Regions from separate parts of the Homo sapiens genome. Here all the other regions are linked to region 4. Evidence: promoter capture Hi-C in 16 types of primary human blood cells and fetal thymus (Javierre and others, 2016). All regions are on one chromosome and are shown on one strand. The core of a region is centred on a gene start or on the middle of the fragment in contact, and the rest is flanking DNA. Distances in the headings are between cores, read along the strand shown.

Region 1 (2,700 bases), core at 44-2,543, 540 kb before region 4:
ACAGAGGGGAACAGAGGTTTAGGGCTAACAAGCGGAAGTATTTTATGGAAGTTCGCACACTGAATGATGCAAGTCCCGGTTTTCTTTCTCCATCTTGTTCCTGGAAAGCAATCAACCAGGCATATATTCTCCTAGATAGGAAATGGTTGGATTACTTGGCTGGAGAATATAACCTTGGCTGTCAATATCATTGGGTCTTTTCTCCTGGGTTGGTAAGATTCCTCAAAGTAGAATATTTTAATATCTTGCTTGGAGGGCATAAGCCTACTGCTAACATTTTGAGAAAAAGAGCAAGCATGGGAGTGAGTGTTGTCTCTATTTAGTATGTCAATTTCTACTTAATTTTTCTGTTTCTATTATTGTACTACCATCTTCAACTATCCTTGGTCACTAAGTTCAGAGACTCTGTTTTACCTCCTTTAGAGAATGTTAAGCCTTTAGTGTTCTGCTGGGGTGGAGGAGGGAAAGTCATCTGGTTAAGTTGAGTAAGGGAAAGGATCTATTGTTTTAATTGCCTTTCTATGCTTGAAATTGCATAATTTCTCTTGATTTGTTTTCTTGTTTACTGACACTTTCCTTTGTTATCTCCTTCCTACTCTTCTACCTAGTAAATATTTTATTTCAGATATTATACTGCTCAGTTCTAGAATTTTTCTTATGTTTCTATATCTTTTCTAAGATTCCCTATCTTTTCATTCATTATAAGAATATTATCTTTTGCATCATTGTGCACAGTTATAATAGCTCCCATAAAATCCTTGTTTGCTACTTCAAACATCTGGGTCATCTCAAGGTCAATTTCTGTTAATTATCTTTTCACCTGAGAATGAGTTGCATTTTCCTGTTACTTCATATATGGAATAATTTTGGATTGTATTCTGGGTGTTGTGAATGTTATGTTGTGGACAATCTGGGAGAGAGTTGTTGTTGAATTTATTTATTTTAATAGGCAATTGCTTTGGTTTGATTCAAGCTAAAAACTCTGATTTTTGGTGATAGTTCAGATCTCCTTGTAGTTCCTGCATATTTAGCTGATATGTGTGCAGTTTGCCCTGTGCATGTGTAGCTAGGGAGTAGCTCAGAATTTACACACTTAATTTGTGGCTCCCCTTCTTTGGCCCCTCCTTTCCAATATTACCCCTTTATTTCCCCTGTGGTTGTGGCTATAGTGGCCCTGAACTCTTTTCTCTGGTTCTTCAGACCAGAAAGACTGCAGATTTTCTATTGGAGTTTTAGCAATGCCACCTGGCCACCTTTCCTAGGTCCAAGAAATAGGAAGAAAAGGGAAAATTACTCTGCTACCTTGTGCCATTCCCTTATTCCAAATGGCAACTCCCCTCCAGAATCTACCTGCTTTTGTTCACTCTGCAGTGTTTTCGGATTTTTTTTAAAAAGTTGTTCAAAGTTTATTATTATTATTTGAGGCAGAGAGGTCCAGTGGGAGTTTATTCTATTAGAGGTGAACTCCTAACAGCTTGTCAACAACCTTTTAAATAACTCTATTTACCATTAACTCTGCTTCCAAAGTAACCTGGTACCACTAATTTCTGAGCTTTTTCAAGGTTCTGTGGTATAAATGACAATAGTCATGGTTAGTATATTCACCTCTAAAAATTATTTCAGTAAGCATAAATAACATGTAAGCAAAGTGGGAGGTAATGAAAGATTGTGTCATACAACATTCTAAATCAGACAGAATTCCTGCTGCTCTTCCATTTGGTCTCAAAATGGCATTGGCTAGGTTTTTTTCAGCCTCATGTTGGCCAAAATAAGAGCCTTTCTTTAAACCAGTGTTCTAAAACATTCATCATCTCAACTGTTTTGGATTATCAGTTGGCTGCAAACCAGGGGGTCACCCATGGCAGCATGGTACAGACCATGTCTGTAGGTTTTCTTTTCTTTTGATTCCAATGAGAACATCAGAGAAACAAAGAGCACTTCTTTGCAAGATGGACTCTTCTAGAGAAGATGGTCGGCCAATGGACTGTGGAGACAAAGGTCAGAATTGTGGTCCCTTGGGGCATCTCATCTTGTTAGGATCATCATGGTCTCCTCAGGCTGAAGTTCATGAGCCATGAGTCCCCAGCACCTGATTCCCTCAGCACCTGATTGTTCATGAGGTTAGAGCAGTTAATACTGAGACTGTTGCAATTCTGTGAGTAAATAAGGTTTTTATTTCTGTGTTGGAATTTCTTGTTTTGTGCACCTGGTTTGGATATTTGGTTTATTTGCATAAGAATGCACACGTGTAGCTTGGGATTCAACTCAGAGAGGGACTTTTAGAAAAGTCTAAAGTCAGAGGGGACTATTGTCTATGTGAGTACACTTTTTAAAGCATCCCTTTCATTAGCTATCAAGGCACAAGCTCTGTTTCCTAAGGAAAGTCACCCCAAACAGCTATTATATAAACTACAAAAGAAGTAGATGTGGACATAATTAAGCACATTTTTATTTCCAATTGAAATACAGTTGGAAACTCTTTAGGGCTCAAGTCAAAACTTTTGGCTTTGTTCCCTGGTCCAGAATTCAAAACAATTTCTCTCTCTGGAATTGTAATCGTTTTTTCTGAAGATTATTGAATTCAAATAGCTTGATATGGAACTAATCTAGTCTAGTTGAATTTTTGGAATTCTTTAAATTCTCAAAAAGGTTGAATTTATCTGGTGCTCAGTAGATGTGAACGAGCAACATCCTAAGGTG
Region 2 (2,700 bases), core at 183-2,682, 580 kb before region 4:
GGAGCAGACAGAGAAGCCCAGGATGAGCCCTGGATGGAGCAAGTGGCAAAGGAGCCTGAGAGTGGAGAGGCTAATTCAATCTGGCCTCCTGATTTCGATATGTGTTTTCCCAATCTGAGGAGCTTGGAGATGGCCTGGGAGAGGAGAGGAAAAAAAAAGTACTTGCTTTGGTGGTGCCCAGGAGGCATTAGGAAGCAGATCTGGCTTTGTCTTCAGGGCTCTTTAAAACAGTAGTCACCACACTTTTTCTTAAAGGGCCAGGTGGTAAATATTTTAGGCTTTGGGGGTTGTGTGCTAACAGGCAAAATCAAGGATATTATATAGGTACTTACAGAACTATTTAAAAATGCCACCATTTTAAAATGTAAAAACTGTCTGGGCACAGTGGCTCATGCCTGTAATCCCAGCACTTTGGGAAGCCGAAGCAGGAGGATCAGGTGAGGCCAGGAGTCCAAGACCAGTCTGGGCCATATAGCATGATCTTGTCTCTTAATAAAAAAATAAAAATAAAAAATAGCAGGCATGGTGGCATACACCTATATGTCCCAGTTACTTGAGAGGCTGAGGTGGGAGGATTGCTTGAGCCTACAAGTTTGAGGCTGCAGTGAGCTATTATCGCCCCACTGCATTCTAGCCTGCATGACACAGTGAGATCTCTGTGTCTAAAAAAAAAAATTAGTTAAAAAATGTAAAAATTATTCTTAGCAGGCTGACTTTAAAGTCAGGCTGCTGGCCAAATTTGACTTTGAGGTTGTAAAGTGCTGATCCTTCCTTTAGAGAACAGGGATCAAACTAGGGTTCAGCTCAATTTCACTTAAGGTCTATGATATTCCCAGGCACCCATAGAATTATTTTTTTCTAGGACTTTTGTACGACACAGGTCTTCGAGAGCAGAGGTCACTTGGATTGGCCTGATGGGTCAGTGTGTCTTGCACTCTGCCTTGGGGTGTTATTTATTTTGGGTTTGATGGGTGTGTGCCTTGGTTTGTGGAACTGGTTCACTCAGGCTTGTGAACTCTGGTTCTACACATCTCTTCCCAATTCCACATGCAGTGATGTCACATTGGTGTCTTGAACCTGGCCATACAGACAATATTGACACCATGGAAACTGGCAAATGCTGCAAATCAGGGCTTTTTGAGGGACGGTGGGATGGGAATAAGCAATTGTCAACATTTACCAGCATACCACTGGGCATTTGCCTATGGCATTAGCTTTCCCTAGAGAATTTTCTGGTGATGGTTATATGTCACCGGGAGGGAAATATAAAGAGGTGACAGAAGAGCAAAATTAACTTGATGGGGAGAAGGGAAGTGTCCTGAATGAGCTCCAGGCTTGCTAGTCACTTGCCTACTGGACACCTCTGCTTGGATGTCCCAGGAACCCAAACTCAGAAGTCCAAAATGGTCCCAGTATCTCTCTGCTCCCAATAAATAGTGCTGGAATCATCATGAAGTGTTTACTCTCTCTTCTCTCTTTGTCTTTCACCTTTCCTGCCTCCATCAAACAAATGAACCCTCGGGTCTTGCTGACAGTGCCTCTGAGCATTATGAGATCCTTTGTTTCTTCTATTCACTTTCTTCTCTTATTCTCACCCTGGCTACCATTTTCTCCTGTCTGGCCTCCTAGCTCATCTCCTCTTACTGGTGACTCACTCTTTTAGTCCATTTCTTGGCTTGCATAATCTTCTGGATTGCATATTTGTTCTTATCACTCACCGGCTTTACCCTGCAGCTGTACCCCATGGCATCTCGAGTGAAGTCTAAACTTCCCAACATGCTTTGCAGGGCCTGCCTCACAGCCTCATCTCTAACCCCTGGGGCTTCCCACTCTATAATTCTGTACTTTGGTCACACTGAACTTCTGCTGCCTGGAATGGACCTCACTTCTCATGGGCTGTCCTCTCTCCCAGCCTCAGTGTTGTCAGGCTCATTCTTCCCCGCCCTTCACAGAAAGGCTCATTAAGTCTTACTTTCCATGGGATGTTTCCTTCACCTTTCTGCTTCATCCCCTCAGGGAAAGGGCTGTCAGGGAATGCACAGCCTGCTTCCTTCCAGAGCCTCATCTGTTCAGGTTACATGACCCTCTGTGCTGACACCCCTATTCTGCTTACTAGAGGCTATTGTGATGTCTCTCTGTGACCCTGAAATGTATCTGCCAAACTCTTAAAACAACGCTATTGGAAGACATCCAAAGCTCTTCTGGGCTGGGCGCAGTGGCTCTTGCCTGTAATCCCAGCACTTTGGGAGGCCAAGGCAGGTGGATCACCTGAGGTCAAGAGTTTGAGACCAGCCTGGCCAACACAGAGTGAAAACCCATCTCTACTAAAAATACAAAAATGAGCTGGGTGTGGTGGTGCATACCTGTAGTCCCAGCTACTTGGGAAGCTGAGGCAGGAGAATCGCTTGAACCCAGGAGCCGAGATCATGCCACTGTACTCCAGCCGAGGCAACAGAGCGAGACTCCCTCTCAAAACAAAAGCAAAAAACAAAAGCTCTTCTGAACTAACCTGGTGAATCCCAGAAGTTGGACCTTGTAGCAGGCGGATGCAGCTCTTGTAGGAGATCCTGGTGCTGGCATACTGTCCTCAGACTACCATCCATGAAGACAGCGTGCATGGTGGACAGTTCTTCCTGACATTCTAAGGCCCATGGGAAACACTTTCATTCTTCTCTCTGTGCATTTGGTTTTAAAGCTCTG
Region 3 (2,700 bases), core at 124-2,623, 610 kb before region 4:
ATATGTGCATAGTTTTATTGAAGGTCTTGTATTGTGTGGTTTATAACTTTTCGTGGCTAGATAATGTATAGGAGAAGAAGTTATAAATGTAGTTAGGCTCTTGATGATGGGAAGCCTCATATTATAGGCCAAGAACTTTGGGTTTTACCCCAAAAGCAATTGTAAACCACTTTAAGAAAAGTGTGACATAATCAGATTTGCTTTTAATACTATACCAGTGATTGTTTGGGGTATTGCAAATATATATTTTTACCCCAGATTTGAAATGCCACTTTGTCCTATACTAAATACATTTACATCTATTTCTGGAATTTTAGGCCTGTTACCTTGAACTGTCTGCTTAATAATATTTTTTGTTTTTTGTGTTTTTTTGAGATGGAGTCTCACTCTTGTCATCCAGGCTAGAGTGCAATGGCATAATCTTGGCTCACTGCAACCACTGCTTCCTGGGTTCAAGCAATTCTCCTGCCTCAGCCTCCCGAGTAGCTGGGATTACAGGCAACTGCCACCACACTGGACTAATTTTTGTATGTTTAGTAGAGATGGGGTTTCACCAGGTTGGCCAGGCTGGTCTGAAACTCCTGACCTCAGGTGATCCACCCACTTCAGCCTCTCAACGAGCTGGAATTACAGGCGTGAGCCAACGTGCCTGGCCTAATAATGTTTTAATATGACATTATTTTGTTTACTGTGGCTTTATGTTTTAATATTTAGTAGAAATTTTTTCTCCATTGTCCATTTTCAAAATGGATTCCTGGATAAACTGGCTTAATAGTTTTCCTATATTAACAGTCTTAGTCCATTTGTGTTGCTCTAAAGGAATATCCTAGGCTTGACAATTTATAAAGAAAAGAGGTTTATTTGGCTCACGGTTCTGCAGGCTGTACAAGAAGCATGGCGCCAGGATCTATGTCTGATGAGGGCCTCAGGTTGCTTCCATTCATGGCAGAGGGTGAAGAGTAGCTAGTGTGCAAAGATCACAAGATCAGAGAGGAAGCAAGAGAATGGAAGGAAGAGTTGCCAGGCTCTGTTCAACCACCATGTTTAGTTTTCATGGAAACTAAGGGTGAGAATTCACTTGCTCCCTCCAGCGAGAATGGAACCAAGCCATTCATGAAGAATCTACCCCCACAATCCAAATACCTCCCACCAGACCCCACCTGCAACATTGTGAATTAAATTTCAACTTGGAGGGCCCAAAGAAAACAACTTCAAACCATTGCATTCACTTCACAGTTCTCTAGTCCAGATGTGCTTTCCTCCTTAAAAAAAAAATTCTGCTGTTCTTTGCATTGGGATCCCAATCCCAAGCACTGCTGTCTTCAGGGGCCAGCATGATGTATCCTCAGCTCCTCCTCCACCTCCTCTCCTAACACTGCCCTGAATTTTCTCTGCCTTCCCCACTCTGGCCCCCTTGCTATTGCTCAAACATGCCATGGCCTCCCATCTGCTACTGTCTTCATCTCTGTTCAGCAAGATTGAGTGGCCTCAACTTAGGACCAGGACCCCATCTATAGTCATTTGGGTGGGACTTTTCTCTACACCCTGGGATTTGGGGATGTGGCAGGTCCAATGTCCCGGTCAGCAGGTGGCGGACACAGGTCCTGGAACTGAGGCTGAATCTTTCCCTCTGTTTTCCCTAAAACAGTCCCAGGCATTGGGCAGGTGCCATTTTTTTCAGCTGCCTCTTGAGTGGCGTCAGGCCTGATTCCCTCTCAGCCTCAAGCAGGAACAGGTTGAGTCCCTGTTATTCAAGCAGCTGACCTCTCAGCAGCCTGATTCTGGCCCCAGAACCCTGCAGGCTGAAGGCTTCAGTTCCACACACTGCTTTGGTTTGGATCTGCATCTGGCTTTTGGAGATCTTTAGCTTGTTTCTGAGACCACCTGTGTCTTAGTGGGTTCCTCTTCTGATATTCTATCTCTCATTTTTATGTGTTCAGTACAGAGTGGGTGTGAGGAAGCATGAACTTCTGTGCACCATTGTGACTAGACCACTCATTTATCTTAGCAGACACTCTGAGGTCTGTCTCTCACGAGCTCCTGCTAAAATAACACATTAACCAGCCTGTACTTGTGTGGCGGTTTGGGGGTGCAAATGCTGGACCTTGCAACAATTCCTTCTAACAGCAGCCCTGTTGGAGGAAAGGCAGGTGGGTGTGACTGCAAATCTGTGGTCTCCAACCACAGCAGGGCCTCTGCAGTTCTGCACAGAAGCTCAGCTGGCTTCCTCTTGTCAGCCTCAGCACTTGATCTGGCCCCTCCATCACAGCAAATATGAATAACAGTGCTGACATTGTTCTTATCAGTACGAATGGGGCCGTCAAGTTAAACACCAGCAAGTCCTCTCACTCTTCAACTGTGCTTATCCTTCCCTCCAGGAATTCGTTTTTGTCTCCAGGAATTCTCTGCCTAGAGAACAACACAGTTGCTCTTTACCCTCACACAACACTTCTAATAGATGTGTGGGTTGGTTTTTTTTTTTTTTCCACCCCAAGCAAGTCTCCAATTTTCTGAATACCAGCTAGGAGTCCTACAATTTCATTAAATTCTGATACTATCTACCTGGAGTTAGCATCAGATCCCATGAGTTCAGGGCTCAGTCTCACAAGACTGCACCCCCCACTTCAGACACCAATCAGGAGTCCAGGCCTGTACTCCCAGGGACTCAGGATGCTGAGTGACCAGCTATAAGTTAGGGTT
Region 4 (2,700 bases), core at 40-2,539:
GCTCCTATCTCTGGAGGTGGGTCCTCACCAGAACCCTAGTCCTGTATAGGAAACCAAGGAGCCAAGTGCAGACCACCCAACTAACCTTAATTATAGGACTGGGGATGGAGGGATGGAGGGAGAGAGGAAAAGGCGCAGTAAAATAATGTGCGCAGTGGCTCACACCTGTTGTCGTAACCGAGCGAGTTATAGAGAAACACCACACTTTGAGACTAATTCAGGAGTCCTTTATTGCCGGCGACCGAGAGACGACTACAGCTCAAAATTCTCTCGGCCCTGAAGAAGGGGCTAGATTTCTTTTTATACCTTGGTCTAAATAGGGAAGGGGTAGTCTAGCTGAAGCAATTTTTACAGAAGCAGAACAGGCAAAGAGTTAAAAGATAAATGGTTATAGAAACAGTTACAGGAAAATAAACAGTTCCAGGTGCATGGGGCTTAAATTATCACAAAGAGATAAACGCAGGGGCTTTGGGTACCATCAACCGAGCGCGTTCCCAGGAGCTGCTGGTACAGCTTGCCTCAGTATCTTATCAGTAAGCACATTCCTGGATGTGCTTGGTGTCAGTCTGCACCAGTTATGTCCTTAAGGGAGGGGGACAAGGTGCTGCAAGCGAAGAAACCAAAATGGAGTCTGTCCCGCTCTCTCAGCTAAGAGCGAGTCAATCAGGTTAAAACAAGGTAGGGTATCAAGCTGTAATCCCAGCGCTTTGGGAGGCCGAGGAGGGCAGATCCTTGAGCTCAGGAGACCAGCTTGGGCAACAAGATGAGAGTCTCACACCCCGCCCTGTCTCTACAAAAAACAAAACAAAACAAAACAAAAAAAAGCCAGGCATGGTGGCTCATGTCTGTGGTCCCAGTTACTGCGAGGCCGACGTGAGAGAATCACTTGAGCCCTGGAGATCGAGGCTGCAGTAGCCGTGATCACACTCCAGCCTGGGCGAAAGAGACCCTGTCTCAAAAAACAAACAAAACAATGTGAAATTAAGCCAAAAGCCATCACACGTGCATCCAAAGGACGGCCGCTACCCGCGACCCCTTCCCAACGCACGCGGGAGGTTGCGGGATCAGGGACAGGGGCTTCAGCAGGGAGCCCCCAGACCGGCCCTGACAGGAATTCAAGACCTGGCGCCTGCTCATTCCCCCAGTCGGGGCGGCGGCGGCAAGCCTCGGCCGGCGGCGATCTGCACACCCGCGGAGAAGAGAGGCAGGGGGTCGACCCCACAGCCCAGCCCGGCGCGTCCCCCGCGCCCCCGCGCGAGCCCGAGTCGCCGGCGGAAGTGCTGCGTCGCGCACTTCCGGGTGTTGTCTGGCCGCCGTAGCGCGTCTTGGGTCTCCCGGCTGCCGCTGCTGCCGCCGCCGCCTCGGGTCGTGGAGCCAGGAGCGACGTCACCGCCATGGCAGGCATCAAAGGTGGGCCTGGGTTGCAGGACGCGGGAGGGCTGGGGCCGGCGGGGGAAGATGGGCCGGGGGTCCCACGCGGCCCCCGCACTTCCCCTCCGGGCTCGCGCGCGCGCGTGGGGTCCCTGCGCCGGGGAAGCGACCCCCGCCCCGGCCCTGCGCTTGGCCCGGAGGTGGGCGCGGCGCCCTCGGGCAACGGACGGTTGCGACCCCGGCTTCGCCCCGCAGCCCCCACTTTCTGCCGATTTCGGCAGCCTCTCTCCCACCCATCGCCCCCCGGACAAAATATGAAGTGGTTGGCGGTCAGTGAGGAGTCCCGTCGCGACTTGGACGGCCACACACGTTTTGCAGGAGTTTGCATCCGAGAGAGAGGCAGGCAGAGCGTGGGATTGAGAAGGCTGAGGCTGCTAGAGATGCCAGCTATGGAAAACCAGTCATTTCCCACCGAAAGGCACAAGTGCGGTCTGCGGGCGCTGCACGGGTCTGCCCGAAACCTCGACCCCACGTCCACCCCGGCCGCCCGCGCCCGAGGCTTTACAGGCTCCCGAAACGGGTGCATTTTCATCTGCGGTGTCTGGACCCTAGAGTTGATCCTGTAGGCGACCCCAAAGTGCTCCTGGCTCTCTTCCCTCTCCGCAGTTGCACCCTGAGGCTTTTTCAAATTTCAAAATTTTTCTTTTTTTCCTTTTTTTTTTTTAAGAAGATAAAATACTGGTACAACTTAATGAAAAACTACTGGCTTATTCATGTATTTTCTTTTAAAAAAAGGAATGTTGCATTTGTTCCACCTGTTAGGTAGTTTTGTTGTCAGTGTGATGAGAAGCAAAGTTTTCAGCTACTGCTTAACTAATTACATTGATTTCTTGACCTGCCGCTCTGTAGAAGGGCAGTCAGGCAGGAAGCAGGTAACTTTGGGAGCAGTGGTTTTCTTTGTATTTTTTCTTCTCTAAGGAAAACTTAATCGAGTTTTTTTTCAGGGTCACAGTCTTACTGTTTCTTGTTTATTTTCAATGTCTGAAAACATTTCATTTCCCATATAAAACCTTGTCATTTAAGCAACTGGGATACTTTGTAATCTCCTTTTGAACTATGATAGACTCTAAACCCTTATGTGAAAGGCAGTTATTGTGAATTGCTGTGGTTTTTAGGATGTTGCCCGTTTCCCTGTTCTTCCCTGTTTCTTCAGTGTCAATAATGCGGGGGTCTCTTAAGAAAATAGCTTTGTAATTTACTTCTCCAGACCTAGGGAAATACTGCATTAAACTGATGAAGGTGCCTCAGGTGAACTGCACTTTTGATTTC
Region 5 (2,715 bases), core at 24-2,523, 560 kb before region 4:
TCCTGGCCTCAAACGATCCTCCCGCCTCCGCCTCCGCCTCCGCCTCCTTAAGTCTTGGGATTACAGGAGTGAGCCACAACTCCGGCCCAGCCAGTTCATTCTTAATAACTTTAATACATAAAAATGGACCATTTTAGTGTCCTGAAATAAGCAATGATTTCCACCATCCGAATATGGTGTGTAATGACCTCCAGACGCCTAGTTACCATCTACATCCATAGCTCAGCGATCAGAGCTTGCCCTGAACGGACTCCTTTCCCACTGCAGACAAGTAGGGGGTTTTGCCCGTAAAGAAGGAGCTAGTCTACGTGCGGCTGCAGTAGGCCCTGCGCCATCCGTCATTTCTCGGCTTCCTCCCACGCGCCTTCATGCGGATGTGTAGGTATCTCCTCTCCCTGGCTGAGTCAAGTCACTCAGAGACTGAAAAGAGAGAGAGGATGTGGCGTGAAGCTGAAGCCTGCACCCAGGGCCTGGCACCTACTGGGTTGGGCTTGGCGCTGCGTGCTTGCATTTCCGCGGATAGACCGAGATGGCATCTGGGCTGTGACACTGGCTGCCCAGCTTTTCTTTTCTTTTTTTCCAACAGCATCTGGAAGAGGCTCTGGGAGGGTCCAAACAACAAACCACGCGGCGTTCTCTGGTGGCTGTGCTGGGACGAGTGGGCGGAAACAGCCGCAGGTCTCTCTCTTCTCTTCAGCCTGAAACTCACTGCACAAATACCAGAGGTTTTTTTTAGAGATTAGATAAATTTGCATCCTTCTCCCCCCAACCCCGCCCCTAAGCCAGAGGAAGTGCTTGAGGAAGTAATGTGTTTAAAGAATGTGGGGGAGGGGAGCTTACATTAGGAAGCAGGACTCTTAGCGTGTAGCCAGAAACCCCAATAACCTTTAAGCTGTTAACCCTTGAGGATACGGCTCAATGGTGTACCCACGTGGAGTTCATTATTTATCTCCGAAAGCCCTGTCTGTCTCTCATTCCGACCCTTAAACGAATCATCTGCAGTTTGGCCAACAATTCAGTTCCAGCTCCCTGGGAATACCAGCAAATCCCGGGACAGCTGTTCCTTCTGCTGAAAACACCAGGAAAATCCGCCCAGGAGCTCAGGCTGTTTGACCAGAAAGCCTGGTGTTGGTCACTGTCAGAGAGCACGAACAGAGGGAAGAGGAGGTCCTTGGCTGGGTCCTTCATTTTTTTCTTTTTTTTTTTTTTTTTTTTTTTTTGTCCTTGGGAGCTTGGATGAGCTTGTCTTTGATGCCTTAATTGTTTCTGCACTCTTTTCTCCCTTTCATAAATCCATTGAAACGATATATATATTTAAGAGTAAGGCAAACCTCAAATTAGGCTGTCTGTAGAACTGAGCCTCTGCAAAGAGAGTAATTAAATTATTGGCATGAAACGGCAGGAACCCTGGAGGGGACGGCAGGGAGAAGGCACTAGTAAAAGTGGAAGGAAACTACTTGGGAAGATATTGGTGCCTGTGCTGGGGAATGACATATACCCAAACCATTTCTCATCAGACTTGAAAATACCGTATACATCTGTGTATGTCAGCGGATGTGCGGCAGATTCCCCTGCCCCACTGGTCTGTCTGAATGTTCTGTCTCTGTTTAGCCTGGGTGAGATGGAGGAGGATTCCCTCTTAGGGGCTTGCCACGCCACCCCTCCTCCACAGTGTGGAAATAAAAATCTTGAGTTCCTTTAAGGAAAATTGCAGGCACCTAGCTATCCCTGAGAAATTAATGAGCAACTTCATAAGTAAAAAGGTAATCATACCATAAAACAATAGCAATAAAATTAGAGCCATGAGATGTTTGGTTCCCTATAGAAACTGAAGATACATCTTAACATATGTTCCTGAGTTATTTTTCAGAAACCCAGACCTCTACCAAATGGATCTGCTGGCACGCAGACCTCAGAAAAGGGGAAACTGAGGACTGAACTCTGACTGCTATTTCTTGTTCTGCATTTTTTCTTGAAGGACCTGAAGGAAGTCACGCCCATGGGCCAGACCTAACGTTCTTTAATGCTGACTCTCAATTTTTAAATAGAGCTTCCCTTCCTTAACCAACTGCAAATCAGAAAATTGTTGAATCCCCTACCCCGTGACCTGTAAGCCCCTGCTTCAAGATATCCTGTGTGTTAAGGTCAAACCAATATGTAGCCTCCATGTATTGACTTATGACTTTGTGTGTAACCTCTGCCTGCCTGCCTTTAGAAACCCTTGCTTGCAAGCCACTGGGAAGGTCAGGTGAGCTGCCTGATTCTCCTTGCTGGGTGCCCTGAAAATAAACACCCTCCTTTCTCTCACTACAAAACCTCAGTTTGAATGTTTGGCTTCACTGCCCTGGAGGCACAGACCTCAGTTCAGTTGGGCAACATGGGTCTCGGGGTGCTGAAAGCCACTTTTTATTTTCATTAGGGACTTGCTCATGCCAAACATCCTGAATTTAAGTAGAACTTACTAGGTTTGGGGTGTTTGTGGGATGGGGTCCCCTTGTGGAGCCCTGAGCCTTCTGCCATCCCCTATCTCTGGTCCCCACTAATTTTTTTTTTTTTTTTTTGAGATGACATTTTGCTCTGTCACCCAGTCTGGAATGCAGTGGCACAATTTCAACTGACTGCAACCTCCACGTCTCAGGTTCAAGCCATTCTCCTGCCTAGCCTCCCAAGTAGCTAGGATTACAGGCATGTGCCATCACACCCGTAATGTTTGTA

What was found. Contacts are between HindIII fragments. The CHiCAGO score rates a contact against its expected background, and 5 or more counts as called.
Region 1: a contact is called between a fragment that was not itself captured here and the fragment with the promoter of LEPROTL1 in region 4, in 2 of 17 cell types (total CD4 T cells and total CD8 T cells). The highest score is 8.9, in total CD4 T cells.
Region 2: a contact is called between a fragment that was not itself captured here and the fragment with the promoter of LEPROTL1 in region 4, in 1 of 17 cell types (activated CD4 T cells). The highest score is 5.0, in activated CD4 T cells.
Region 3: a fragment that was not itself captured here is called in contact with the fragment with the promoter of LEPROTL1 in region 4 in 4 of 17 cell types (total CD4 T cells, non-activated CD4 T cells, activated CD4 T cells and 1 more); the score reaches 9.7 in total CD4 T cells.
Region 5: a contact is called between a fragment that was not itself captured here and the fragment with the promoter of LEPROTL1 in region 4, in 1 of 17 cell types (activated CD4 T cells). The highest score is 5.1, in activated CD4 T cells.

The regions. Positions count from the first base shown.
Region 1 is chr8:29,551,472-29,554,171 of GRCh38, forward strand. No RefSeq gene overlaps it. Among named protein-coding and RNA genes, the nearest start is that of LINC02948, 9.5 kb to the right of the region's middle. The HindIII fragment of the contact is 4,053 bases long and covers 1-2,700 here.
Region 2 is chr8:29,511,789-29,514,488 of GRCh38, forward strand. LOC107986883 (a long non-coding RNA gene) reads right to left here and starts at 2,057. Exons shown (of 2, transcript XR_001745702.1): 1 at 1,973-2,057; 2 at 1-134. The HindIII fragment of the contact is 4,538 bases long and covers 1-2,700 here.
Region 3 is chr8:29,488,504-29,491,203 of GRCh38, forward strand. No RefSeq gene overlaps it. Among named protein-coding and RNA genes, the nearest start is that of LINC02948, 72 kb to the right of the region's middle. RefSeq lists enhancers at 1,701-1,760, 2,016-2,521. The HindIII fragment of the contact is 9,682 bases long and covers 1-2,700 here.
Region 4 is chr8:30,094,119-30,096,818 of GRCh38, forward strand. LEPROTL1 (leptin receptor overlapping transcript like 1) reads left to right here and starts at 1,290. Exons shown (of 4, transcript NM_015344.3): 1 at 1,290-1,410. The coding sequence starts at 1,395. RefSeq lists a silencer at 1,138-1,597. The HindIII fragment of the contact is 3,733 bases long and covers 1-2,700 here.
Region 5 is chr8:29,529,205-29,531,919 of GRCh38, forward strand. It overlaps LOC107986935 (a long non-coding RNA gene), which reads right to left and starts at 1,140. Exons shown (of 2, transcript XR_001745860.2): 1 at 841-1,140; 2 at 95-708. LOC105379350 (a long non-coding RNA gene) reads left to right here and starts at 412. Exons shown (of 3, transcript XR_001745859.2): 1 at 412-678. RefSeq lists enhancers at 1-1,043, 62-1,003, 451-700. The HindIII fragment of the contact is 3,667 bases long and covers 1-2,715 here.